Regions from separate parts of the Homo sapiens genome. Here region 2 is linked to region 1. Evidence: promoter capture Hi-C in 16 types of primary human blood cells and fetal thymus (Javierre and others, 2016). All regions are on one chromosome and are shown on one strand. Each heading gives the region's core, a stretch centred on a gene start or on the middle of the fragment in contact. The rest is flanking DNA. Distances are from core to core; before and after follow the strand shown. Region 1 holds the start of CHRNA10 (cholinergic receptor nicotinic alpha 10 subunit). Region 2 overlaps STIM1 (stromal interaction molecule 1).

Evidence for each region. Contacts are between HindIII fragments. The CHiCAGO score rates a contact against its expected background, and 5 or more counts as called.
Region 2: a contact is called between a fragment that was not itself captured here and the fragment with the promoter of CHRNA10 in region 1, in 6 of 17 cell types (total CD8 T cells, non-activated CD4 T cells, total CD4 T cells and 3 more). The highest score is 6.0, in total CD8 T cells.

The regions. Positions count from the first base shown.
Region 1 is chr11:3,667,626-3,673,782 of GRCh38, forward strand. CHRNA10 (cholinergic receptor nicotinic alpha 10 subunit) reads right to left here and starts at 3,759. Exons shown (of 5, transcript NM_020402.4): 1 at 3,627-3,759; 2 at 2,171-2,316; 3 at 1,571-1,725; 4 at 1-139. The coding sequence starts at 3,687. The HindIII fragment of the contact is 7,798 bases long and covers 1,451-6,157 here.
Region 2 is chr11:4,036,007-4,042,538 of GRCh38, forward strand. All of the region lies in intron 3 of STIM1 (stromal interaction molecule 1), which reads left to right. Among named protein-coding and RNA genes, the nearest start is that of RRM1, 56 kb to the right of the region's middle. The HindIII fragment of the contact is 594 bases long and covers 2,463-3,056 here.

The DNA.
Region 1 (6,157 bases), core at 2,509-5,008:
GTGCTGGGCGTCGAACGGGAAGGCTGCTACATCCACGCGGCACGAGCTGCGCGTGATGGCCGGCGCGTCCCAGCGCACGGCGCCATCGTGGCGCAGGACCACGTTGGTGCTGGCGGAACCTGGAGGCTGCGCGTCGGCTCTGGGGGCAGGCGGGGCAGGGCTCACCTAGGCTGTCCAGCCTGAGGAGCAGCCCCGGAGGCCGGGAGCCCAGGGCAGACCCCCAGGGGCTGAAAGAAACCAAAACTTCTCCCCAGAATATTGAGGCTCGTTAAGTTCGAGACACTCACGACGCAGGGGAGCACCTGGCCCCAGCGTCTGCTGGCCTGATGGCAGGACATCAGCCCTTCCTTGCTGGAGTCAGCACTTGCTTATCCAAAGGGCACCAGTAGGTGCCAGAGGAATCTGGAAACAGATTTTACCCTCTTTCCACGTTTTCCCGCCTTTTAAAGGTGGCTGTCCTTTGTCTTGCCACTATTTATAACTTACTGGCTCTTTCTTGAATTTCTATTTAAGCAAGGCCCCTAAGTCACTGCCTTCAGAGAGAAATACTTTTGAACTAAGGCCTCTCCCATGATGGGTACAGCAGATTAATAAACTTCTGCTTGTGGCTGGGTGCGGTGGCTCACGCCTGTGATCCCAGCACTTTGGGAGGCCGAGGTGGGCGGATCACGAGGTCAGGAGATCGAGACCACCCTGGCTAACACGGTGAAACCTCGTCTGTACTAAAAATACAAAAAACTAGCTGGGCGTGGTGGCGGGTGCCTGCAGTCCCAGTTATTTGGGAGGTTGAGGCAGGAGAATTGCGTGAACCCGGGAGGCGGAGCTTGCAGTGAGCCGAGATAGCGCCACTGCACTCCAGCCTGGGCGACAGAGCGAGACTGTGTCTCAAATAAATAAATAAACTTGTGCTTGTTTTTTTTTCGTTAATTTGATTCTTGTTTTCAGAACAAAGCAACACAGAGGGTGGAGTGCACCTAGAGAGACCCGCTGCCTTTCGAGGCCTGGAAGGGGTGGTGCCTGAAGGGCCCAGAAGGGACACAGACGTAGCCAGAGGATGTATAAAAAGGCCTCTGCAGAACCCAGAGGTAGCTCCGGGACACACAGTGACTTCCCTTGGGGGACATCTGCAAAACTTGTAGAAGGGCCCCAGAGAAAATATGCAGAGCTATGTGCTGGCTGGGAGACACGGAACTGGTCAAGGAGACATAAAGCAGTGTTCCAGAGGGCTATGTCCTGGAGGAAAGAGACCCTTACACAGGCTCTTCGGGGAGCCCTGAGAGACTTAGAGCTAAAAGTGTGCCCTAGAGAGGCCCTTGTGATTCAGACAACTGCCCTGGACCACACAGTAGGTTCCGAGGAGACGTTCAGCCTGGGCTGGCCTGGGATAGCCTAAAGTGGGGGTGCCATGGAGGGGCTGAGTGCCTGGCAGCTTAGAAGGGTCCTGGGGAAAAGCTTCCAGGGCAGCGTGGCAACCAGGTTATGTGGTAGGGAGAGGGGATCACTACACCCCCACAGCTAAGGGCAAGTCTAGAGAGGGGTAAGAGAGAGGAGGGGCCCAGATAGGCAGTACTTGTTATAGAGTACGATGTCTGGCCGCCACACAAGACTGCTGGGGATGCGGATGGCATCCAGGCCACCATAGGCATTGGGGTCCCATCGTAGGTAGGCATCTGTCCACTCCTGCCGTATCCACAGATACAGGGTCAGCACCTGGTTCCGTTCATCCTAGTGGGGGCAGGGAATGGCAGAGATGTGGACATGTATATGCATATCCTGCCCTGTCTGTGCACACTCCCCTGCAGGGCTCTGGTCAGCACCCACAAACCTGACTTGTCCATACCGTCCAGTTCCCACCCAGACCTGACCTTGCCATGTGACCTTAGTGGGCTCTTCTCTTTTCTGCCCCTGTTTCCTCAGCAGGAATATGGGGTGAGAATCCCTGCTTAGCAGGGATTCAGTAAGTTCAGGTGAACAAAATATTGGGCACGAGGTAGGCACCCAATACTCAGTACCCAACAGTCAGTACCCAACAGTTTGTAACTGCTACCTTTGTTAATATTAACATTTACAGAAAAGAAATTCCATGGAGAATAATCCCAGTCTCTCACCCCTTCATTTCTTGACACTGTGACAGGTAAGACTCCACAGCTGTACCACCACCACAACGCACCATGTCGATGATCTGGGACAGTGTCACCTCCAGGGTCACATTCAGAGTCTGGTCTGTGTCTGCCACAGGTCTCAGGGCACTTGTGTAGTTGGCAAAGAGGTCACGGAACAGCTTGAGAGCCAGCCGGCCCTCAGCTCCCAGGCACTCTGGAGGGTCAGTAAGGAGGGTTGTCCATCCCAGGCCCTAGTCCCAGGGCCTCTGCTCACACCCTCCACTCCCAGGGCTGGGGCCCTGTCCTTATGAGTGTCCTCCTGGTGTCTGCCTTCTCTTGCTCTAGCTGTGGCTCTAGTTCCTCCCTGGCCTGCCTGCAGGGACACATGAGGTAAAGGCCATGGAGTGAACTGGTACTATCTTCTGGCGCCAGGCTGACAAATTTCTCCTCCACCCTCCCCTTTTCAAGGACCTGGAGTCTGCCTGCCTCTCCACAAATGCTAGAGGGGCCCAAATAAGCCACAAGAGTCCAGACTTTCACCCAGGGATTCTAAACCCCACTGCTCTGCCCCCTCCAGTATCTCTCAAACCTGTTTCCACTTCTCCATCTCGAGCTGGTTTCTTCAAAACTTCTGATGCGATGGAACACTCCCTCACTCTGAAAACACACTTCCCCAGGCTTTACTGACACAAATTTTCCTCAATCCCTGACCTAAACATTGTTCCCATGAATCCTGTCCTTGGCTCCCATCTTTTTCTTCATCCCAGATTTTTCTCCTGAGCTCCAGACCCCAATAGAGTACAGTCCACTCCTGAGTTTCCCACAGGCACCTTCAACTCTGAGGGTCCAAAATATGAACTCGCTTCCTCCCTCCATGCTCTGAAACCTGCTTCCTATCCCATGTTCCCTATCTCAGCAAATAGCATGCCCTCAGCTTCAACAGTGACCTTAGTTGGAAATCTGGGAATTATCCCTCCCTTCTCCCTCTGCTGCCTCCTCCTCGGGGAATCCAGTTAATCTCCAGATCCTGTCAGATCATTCAAATCCTCCAGATTTTGCGAAACATCGTCTTGAGTCTACCCTCTCCCCTCCAGGTCAGGGCCCTCCCTTCACTGTCTCCCTTTCCCCAAAGGCTCACCTTCTTCTACCCCTCCCATGCCCCAGGACCACGCTTTTAAGCATGCACATCTGACCAGGCTAGTATGCTGCTGAAACCTTTCAGTGCTCCCCGTCATCTGCAGGAGAAAGACCTGGCCTGGCCGGCAGGCCCTTCAACATCTGGCCCCTCTGATTTTCCCAGCCCTGTCTCTGGAAGCTCCCCGCTCACTGTTTCCACCCTAGCCAGGCAAGTCTCCTCTCACGCACTTCAGCACCCCTCTCCTCCACACTCCCCAAATAGAGAGCTTGTTCTCAGAACAGGTACTGAGGAGAAACACAAGAGAGACTACATGGAAAGGGATTTTGGGAGAACAGGAATAGTAGCACCACCAGGAGAGGCCAGGGCTGGTGTACTGAGCTTCATACCTGCAGGGAGTAGAAACAGAAGCAGAAGGCCCAGGCTGAGGTGGTGGCTCCGGAGCCCCATGGCCCTGGCACTGCAAGAGCGGGGGCAGGTCTCTGGATGTGAGGCCTCCTGGCCAGACCTAGGGCAAAATTAGGCCCAGCTGGCAAGGATGGTGTGGACAGTACCTAGAAGTCAGAAGTAAGACAGATCTCTGGTGGGTCCAGCCACCCTCCAGCGAGCCCTGCAGCCCCTCCAGTCTTCTGACCCTCCAATTTGTGCCTGCCCCTGGATTTTAGTACTTGGTCTTTCTTCTTCTCTGCTGGTCCTTGCCTCTTCTGGCCTCTGCCTCTGCCCTTTCCTATGCTCCCCACCTGCTTTGTCTTTCACTCTGTTTCTGCTTCCTTCTCTTTCCGTCTGTAACTTTCTTGGTCTCTCTGCCTCCCTGACTCTGATCATCCCCTGCCTGCCTCTTTCCACTCTCTCTCCCTTTCTCCTACTTCTGTTTCATCCCTCATTCCTTCCTTCTTCCATTCCCCACACCTGGACTCTAGATGGGCCTGCTGCTCTCTCAGCAGAACAGGGACCAGGGACTCCTCCCTTGATCAGCCCAGAGTCGTCCGAGGCACAGGACCACAGCCCCTCCCTCTCTGCCCTTTCATTAGCTTAATTACACCGTGCCTATGACAACAGAGCAACGGAAACTGATACCTCGGGCCTCTGGGGCTTGAATTATTCAAACTCTGTAAAGCAGCACACAGACTCAGCTCAGGCCCATCCTCGGGTGTTGGAGAGTACAGGTATGCTGGGTCAGGGTATGTGGAAGACCAGGGCTTAAGAGTGTGAGGGGCCAGGGTCAGTGGATGGATAACTGTCCTCTCATCTTAGCCACCATTGCCTGAATTCTGGAGGTGGAGGTTTGCCTTAGACCTGCAGCTCTCCTTGCAGTGCGGGACTAGACACTCCAGGCTAGGCACTTTGGGTCAAGCAAGCCCTTCCCTCCTGGTGGGAGTAGTGCTGAGCCTCAGGCCACTCCAGATGACCCAGTGGAGCAGAAGATGGAGCCCACATCCTCTCCTCAGACTCCCTGCAGTCATTCCCATCTGAGCCTGTTTTTTCACCTTGCCCAAACACTGTGGGCAGTGTGGGAGAAGAGGGCAAGCATTCAGTCACTTTCGGCCCTGTCTTATGAGCGCTCTCACTTGGGTAAGATATTTAAACTCTCTGGGTTTCTGTTCTCTCAATCTGGTAATGGGATTAACAGTACTCATCTTGAAAACTGCAAGGATTTAAATGAGATAACCTGATAGTGCAAGGCACTGTCTAGCACGGTGCCTAAGGTACAGCAGGTCATCAACAATATTTACACTGTGGTCCCAGTAAGGTAGCCAGGCTATCCTCAGGTCACAGGTATTTATCATGCACAGAGTTTTGATTATTTTTGTTCAAGCTGACCAGTTGCCTGACCAACAGCAGCACATACTTCCCTGGCAATCACATCCATAGCCATGACTTTGGGCATCGTGGATATGCCAGTGATTCCCTGCACTTTCTCCACCCGTCCCCTCTCCCAGGTACTCTGCTTATCTCCAACCACCTTCCTAACACACAAGCGTTTCACATCATTTCAAATTGAAATCCAACATTCACTTATTCAAGCTAGTAGAGGGGAACTGTCCTTAACTTGTTAAAGAACAACTACCAAAATACCCTACAGCCATCCTGCCACCTCAGCCTCCTGAATAGCTGGAACTAAAGGTGCACACCACCCAGCTAATTTTTGTTCATTTTTTAAGAGACAAGGTCTCCCTATGTTGCCTAGGCTGGTCTTAAACTCCTGGGCTCAAGGGATTCTCCCTCCTCAGCCTCCCGAGGTGCTGGGATTACAGGCGTGAGCCATCGTGCCCAACCAATACAAGGTTTAACAAATCCTTAGGAAAGCCTAAGAAATGAACATTTAAAGCAGAAATTAAGATTATACAGAACTCCAGTAAAATTGATTAATACGTCTAAGGACTGGTTATTTGAATAACAAAAAATCTGGAACAATTTTCTGGAAATACAAATTAACAAAACTGAGCTAAAGATGAAACATCTAAAAAGAGCAGATACTCTGCAGGCCTTTGCTTAATTATTCCAATATTTAATTCTCCAGACCTCTGTTAACTTTGGGTTCTGTTGAGAAAATAAGTTATTTGAATGTTGTAGATTCCACAGATCTATCGAATGTTGAGGTAACTGGTTCCTGTTTTATGTTTTTGAGAATTTTTTTTGAAATTAAAACATTTTTTACTATTTCAACGGGATTTTGGGATGTGGAAGAGATTGTTCAGGCCTGGCGCGGTGGCTCACGTCTGTAATCCCAGCACTTTGGGAGGCCAAGGCAGGCTTATCACGAGGTCAGGAGATCGAGACCATCCTGGCTAACACGGTGAAACCCCGTCTCTACTGAAAATACAAAAAAAAATTAGTCGGGCATGGTGGCGGGTGCCTGTGGTCCTAGCTACTTGGGAGGCTGAGGAAGGAGAATGGCATGAACCCGGGAGGTGGAGCT
Region 2 (6,532 bases), core at 1,510-4,009, 370 kb after region 1:
TTTCGCTCCTCCCACTCCCCTGACAATGTATGTTGTTCCCCCTGATGTGTCTGTGTGTTCTCATCGTTGAGCTCTCACTTGCAAGTGAGAACATGCACTGTTTGGTTTTCCATTCTTGCGTGAATTTGCTGAGGATAACAGCTTCCAACTCTATTCATGTCCCTGCAAAGGACATGATCTCGTTCCTTTTCATGGGTGCATAGTATTCCATGGTATATATATACCACATTTTCTTTATGCAGTCTTTCATTGATGGGCATTTGGGTTGATTCCATGTCTTTGCTATTGTGAATAGTGCTGCAGTGAACATACATGTGCATTTATCTTTATAATAGAATGGTTTATATTCCTTTGGGTGTATACCCAGTAATGAGATTGCTGGGTCAAATGGTATTTCTGCTTCTAGATCTTTGAGGAATCACCACAGTGTCTTCCACAATGGTGAACTAATTTGCATTCCCACCAACAGTGTAAAAGTGTTCCTTTTTCTCTGCAACCTTGCCAGCATCTGTTGTTTCTTGACTTTTTAGTAATTGCCATTCTGACTGGTATGAGATGGTATCTCATTGTGGTTTTGATTTGCATTTCTCTAATGATCAGTGACGTTGAGCTTTTTTCATATGTTTGTTGGTCGCATGAATATCTTCTTTTGAGAAGTATCTGTTCATGTCTTTTGCCCACTTTTTAATGGGGTTGTTTATTTTTTCTTTGTATATTTGTTTAAGTTCCTTGAGGACTCTGGATATTAGACCTTTGTCAGATGGATAGATTGCAAACATTTTCTCCCATTCTGTACCATTCAGGACATAGGCACAGGCAAAAGTTTCATGATGAAAATGCCAAAAGCAAATGCAACACAAGCAAAAACTGACAAATGGGATCTAATTAAAGAGCCTCTGTATAGCAAAAGTAACTATCATCGGAGTGAACAGGCAACCTACAGAGTGGGAGAAAATCAGGTCATGTTGGTTGATGGTATTGTTCAAGTCTACATATCTTTATCAATTTTCCACCTACTTGTTCTATCTTTTTCCTTTCTTTTCTTTCTTTCTTTCTTTTTTTTTTTTGAGATGGAGTCTCGCTCTGTTGCCCAGGCTAGAGTGCAGTAGCATGATCTCGGCTCACTGCAACCTCCGCCTCCTGGGTTCAGGCAATTCTCCTGCCTCAGCCTCCTGAGTAGCTGGAATTACAGGTGTGTCCCACCATCCCTGGCTAGTTTTTGGATTTTTAGTAGAGACAGGGTTTCACCATGTTGACTGGTCTCGAACTCCTGACCTCAAGTGATCTGCCTTCCTCAACCTCACAAAGTACTGGAATTACAGGCGTGAGCCACTGCATCCAGCCTGCATACTTGTTCTATCAATTGTTAGAGAGGAGTATTTAAGTTTCCAGTTATAACTGTGGATTTGCCTATTTTTCCTTGTAGTTTCTGGTTCACGTATTTTGAAGCTCTGTTACTAGGTGCATAAAGATTTAGGATGATTATTTCTTAGTGATTAACTGACCCCTTCAACATTATGAAATGAACTGCTTTATCCTTCGTGGTAATCTTTGCTCTGAAATCTACTTTGATAAAAATATAGCTGTCTTTTGACTGTTGTTAGTTTGGAATGTCTTTTTCCATCCCTCTACATTTAATCTATTTGTATTTTTATATTTAAAGTACATTTCCTGTAGGTGCATATAGTTGGGTCCTATATATATATATGTATATTTTGCAATGTGACAATATCTGTTAATTGCATTATTTAGACCATTTACGTTTGGTGTGATTATTAATATGATTAATCAAATATGATTGATATGATTATTAATATAAGATAATTTAGGTTAGTCCATTTTCTTGCTATTTGTTTTCCGTTTGTCCCATCTGTTCTTTAATTCCTTTTCCTACCTTTTCTGCTTTCTTTTGGGTTAATTCAGTATTTTTTATAATTCAATTGTATTTTCTTTGTTGGCTTATTAGATATAACTGGTATTTTAGTGGTTGCTTTAGGAGATAAAAGATATGTATCTTTAACTCATCACAGTCTTTTTTTTTTTTTTGAGACAGAGTCTTGCTTTGTAACCCAGGCTGGAGTGCAGTGGTGTGATCTTGGCTTACTGCAACCTCTGTCTCTTGGGTTCAAGAGATTCTCGTGCCCCAGCCTCCTGAGTAGCTGGAATAACAGGTGCATGCCACTACGCCCAGCTAATTTTTGTATTTTTAATAGAGATGGGGTTTTGCCATGTTGGTCAGGCTGGTCTCGAACTCCTGACTTCAGGTGATCCGCCTACCTCGGCTTCCCAAAGTACTGGTGTTACAGATCTGAGCCACTGCACTGGGCCTACTTTCAAGATATATTATAACATGTCACATGTAGTATAAGAAGCTTCCAGTAGCACATATACCCTAAAACTTAAAGTATAATAATAAAAAAAAAAAGAAGCTTCCAGTAGTGTATTTTCATTTCCCTCTCTCAAGCTTAGATTTTAATCCTTGCACTGTGGCTTGGAAATTCAAGGCCATAAGCTGGGGCAATTGTATAACTTCCCTCATTTGTTTCCTATCTCTCAAGAGTCATTGTCCTTTGTAGGCTGATGTCCAGTGTCCTGAAAACCATTATTTCATATATGTTGTCTTTTTTGGGAGGGGTAATTTTAATTCAGGAGGGAGGGTAAATTCCATCTCTGGTACTTCAGCTTACCCTGAAACAGAAGTGTCAGCTGAATCTTCTTTTGCTTGGGCCGTTGTTCTTCATATACCATTATTCTTGGCCCAGCCTAGCTCTACTGCTATGTATCTTTCACTTGGTTCCAGATCTGACGAGGTCTTTGCTTACATTTTTCAGAGTTTTCCCATTTTTCTCTCATACATGAAACAAACAAGTTAGGGCATCAAATTTCTGGGTGTAAGAAATATTCTCAAATGGAAGTTGGAGAAATAAAGATACTGTTAAAAATGTTACAAGTAAATACCTGTATAGCAATAAATAGTAATCATGTTATTTTGAAAGAATAAATACTGGCTTTCCTATTGGTCGGATAACCCTTCAGCTTGTGTAGGAGTAGCGATAAGCTTAGATCACAACTGCTGTCTCATTTGAGACTCAACAGAATAAGATATCCAAAGCTTAGTAATTTTTGATGAAAAAAAATTATAGAAAATGTTGGCTCTGTGTGGTGACTCATGCCTGCAATTCCAGCCCTGTGAGAGGATCACTTGAGCCCCAGAGGTTGAGGCTACAGTGAGCTATGGTCATGCCACTGTACTTCAGCCTGGGTGACAGAATGAAACCCTATCTCTGAAAAAAAGAAAGAAGCTGGGCGTGGTGGCTCATGTCTGTAATCCCATCACTTTGGGAGGCTGAGGCAGGTGGATCACAAGGTCAGGAGTTCAAGATCAGCTTGGCCAACATGGTGCAACCCCGTCTCTACTAAAAATACAAAAATTAGCTGGGCATGGTGGCGGGCACCTGTAATCACGGCTACTCGGGAGGCTGAGGCAGATAATTGCTTGAACCCAGGAGGCAGAGGTTGCAGTGAGCTGAGATCATGCCACTGCACTCCAGCCTGGGCAACAGAGTAAGACTCCATCTCAAAAAAAAAAAAAAAAAAAACGAAAGAAAGAAAATGTCAGTGATTTTTTTTTCATGTTTATCTGTGAGATGTTAGTCAGATGTATTGAAATTAAATGTCCATCTGTAATCTCAAAATGAATTACCTTATCTGGGAGAAAAGAGTAATATGTACACATAAATAAAAATCTGATGATATTTTATTTTATTATATTGTACTTTTTGATGGTGTCTCACTCTGTTGCCCAGGCTGGAGTACAGTGGCGTGATCTTGGCTCACTGCAACCTCTGCCTCCCAGGTTCAAGTGATTCTCCTGCCTCAGCCTCCCAAGTAGCTGGGTTTGCAGGTGCCCACGATGACGCCCAGCTAATTTTTTGTATTTTTAGTAGAGATGGGGTTTCATCATGTTGGCCAGGCTGGTCTTGAACTCCTGACCTCATGTGATCTGCCTGCCTCGGCCTTCCAAAGTGCTGGGATTACAGGTGTAAGCCACCGTGCTCAGCCCTGATGGTATTTTATATCTTGAGAGTTTATTTATATTTTAATGCTGTAGTTCTCTGTTATTCCTTATCTACCTCTGTGGTATTGGCCCTAGAAGGTAGTGTTTTTCTCCTATAATTTATGTAAACATTTCTGTGTTAAAAATTTACTGAGTACCTTCTATATACTAGGCATTGTGCTAGATGAGTTTAGCATACAAGGTCCATGCTTATTTCTCTGATCTACTTGTTTTCCATCATTCCACACCACATCTCCTCTGGAAGTGCACTGCTTTATTGGCAGTTCCTAGGAAATGTTGTTCTTTTTCATCCCATGGTGCTTTCATATATGCTGTTTCCTCTATTCATCTTTCTCATTTGTTGATCTGTTTAAAACTCAATTAATCATTTCTTTAAGTCTTCTTCCCTGAAAACCACAGGCTAAGTTAGGTGTCTTCTTCTGTGTTCCCACAGCCCCTATCTCTTCACAGCCCTTAGCACACTAAATGCAAAGATCTGTTCCACTGCCGGTTTTCCCATCAGACTACTGGAGTGCAGCATTTTATATGATTTTATCTCTTAATACTTAGCACAGGGCCTGGCCCAGAGTAGGAATGCAGCACACAAAAATGTGTCCTTGACTGTTTGATTGTGTGATCTTAGATAAGTTGTTTGGCCTACCCAACATTTCATAGCACCTAGGTTCTCTTACTACTCTGCAGCCATGCTGCCAGACTTCTCTAATCTGTCTCTACTAACCTTGTGGTTTCTCTCTTGGTGGTCTTTAATAGCATGTCCTGTTGGGCCCTGGGAGACCTGGTTTTTGCCTGGTAGCCTAGTGAGCCTATCACATGAGGCCTAGGCCAGATTATTTTTGCAATGATGGTTCAGGGTTTGATAATGACATCAGATTAGAAAATGAAGACCTTTACCTCACTGTAGTCCCAGATGAGAAGCTGCTAGTGGGAACCAGAAGGAAGCTACTTAAAGAGACAATTCACAGTTCCAGGTCACACACTATCTTTAGGAAGGGCCACTTTGGAAGGATTTGATAGCTGCCTTGGAGTGCTGTTATTCAGAGCAGACCAATAAGAAGCTGGGTTTTGTGATGCCTTTTCTGATTCTGTCAGTCACTCCTTTCTCTGTGCTCCCACATCACCTTATATATCCCTGTGACCTAGCATTTATCACACTATATTATATTCATTTGTTTCCTTGTATATTCCCCTCTCTAGAAGAGAGCCCTTGAGGCTGGAGTTCATGCATATTCACCTCTGTGCTGGTTAACTCACCCTTTACCTGCTAGAGTAGAAGCCAATAAAAGCTTAGTGAATGAATGAATAAATGAATGGCGATAATAATTATAGATGATTTTTTTTACACTTATAGTATGCTAGGAGCTTCCCTTTACTACATTTTTATGATGTGAAAACTCTGATTTTCATCATTTTGGTGGTGAAAAAAATGAGGCACAAAATATTAAGTAATTTGCCCATGGTCTTACATCTAGTAAGTGGCAGATTGCAAATTCAAATCAAGACACCTGGTTTCAAAGTTCACATTCTTCTTTTTTTTTTTGAGATGGGATCTTTGCTATCACTCAGGGTGGAGTGGTGCAATCTTGGCTCACTCTAGCCTCAACTCCAGGTGATCCTCCCACCTCAGCCTCCCAAGTAGCTGGGACTACAGGTGCGCGCCATCACACACAGCTAATTTTATTTTTTGTAGAGACGAGGTCTCACTTTGTTGCCCAGGCTGGTCTTGAACTCCTGGCCTCAAGTGATCCTCCTGCCTTGGCATCCCAAAGTATTAGGATTATAGGTGTGAGCCACCGTGCTTGGCCAAAGCTCACATTCTTAACCACTGTGCTATATCTGACTAGCTGACTAAAGGCTAAGTGACCAACTAACTAACAGCTGTGTGAAGGAGGGGCAAAGAAAGTACTGGCAACCTTCCTGCCAGACCTCATTCTCTTGAGATGTGGATTTGAAACCACAAAAGTAGATGAGGGCTTCGTCTGGAGGCACCACAGGTCCATTATGGGAAAGAGATACTGATTCGGGAATCCATTTACTATTATTCCTTCCCTGCCAAGAGAAAAGATTGGCCAAGGCCAAGTGTTTGCCCTGGCACATCCCTGGATGTATTGCTATAGCTCAAGTGCTAGGGAGTATACTGTTCCTTCTGCCTGGTATGCCCTTCCCCCAAATGTCCACATGCCTCATACCTTTTATTTCATTTTCTGCTCAAATATCACTTCATCAGAGAGGCCTTCCCTAATCTGACCTAATACAATATAGGACTATTTTTTATCCCCTTAACCCCTTATGGCTTAATTGTTCTTTATTATACTTATCACCATCTGACATATAATTATTTGTTTATAGTGTTTTATTTTGTCTCCCTCCACCAAAATATAAGCACCATGGGATCTGTGACTGTTTTGTGTATTGTTGTATCTTTACTCCTAGAGTGGTGCCTGGCAAGTAGTAGCT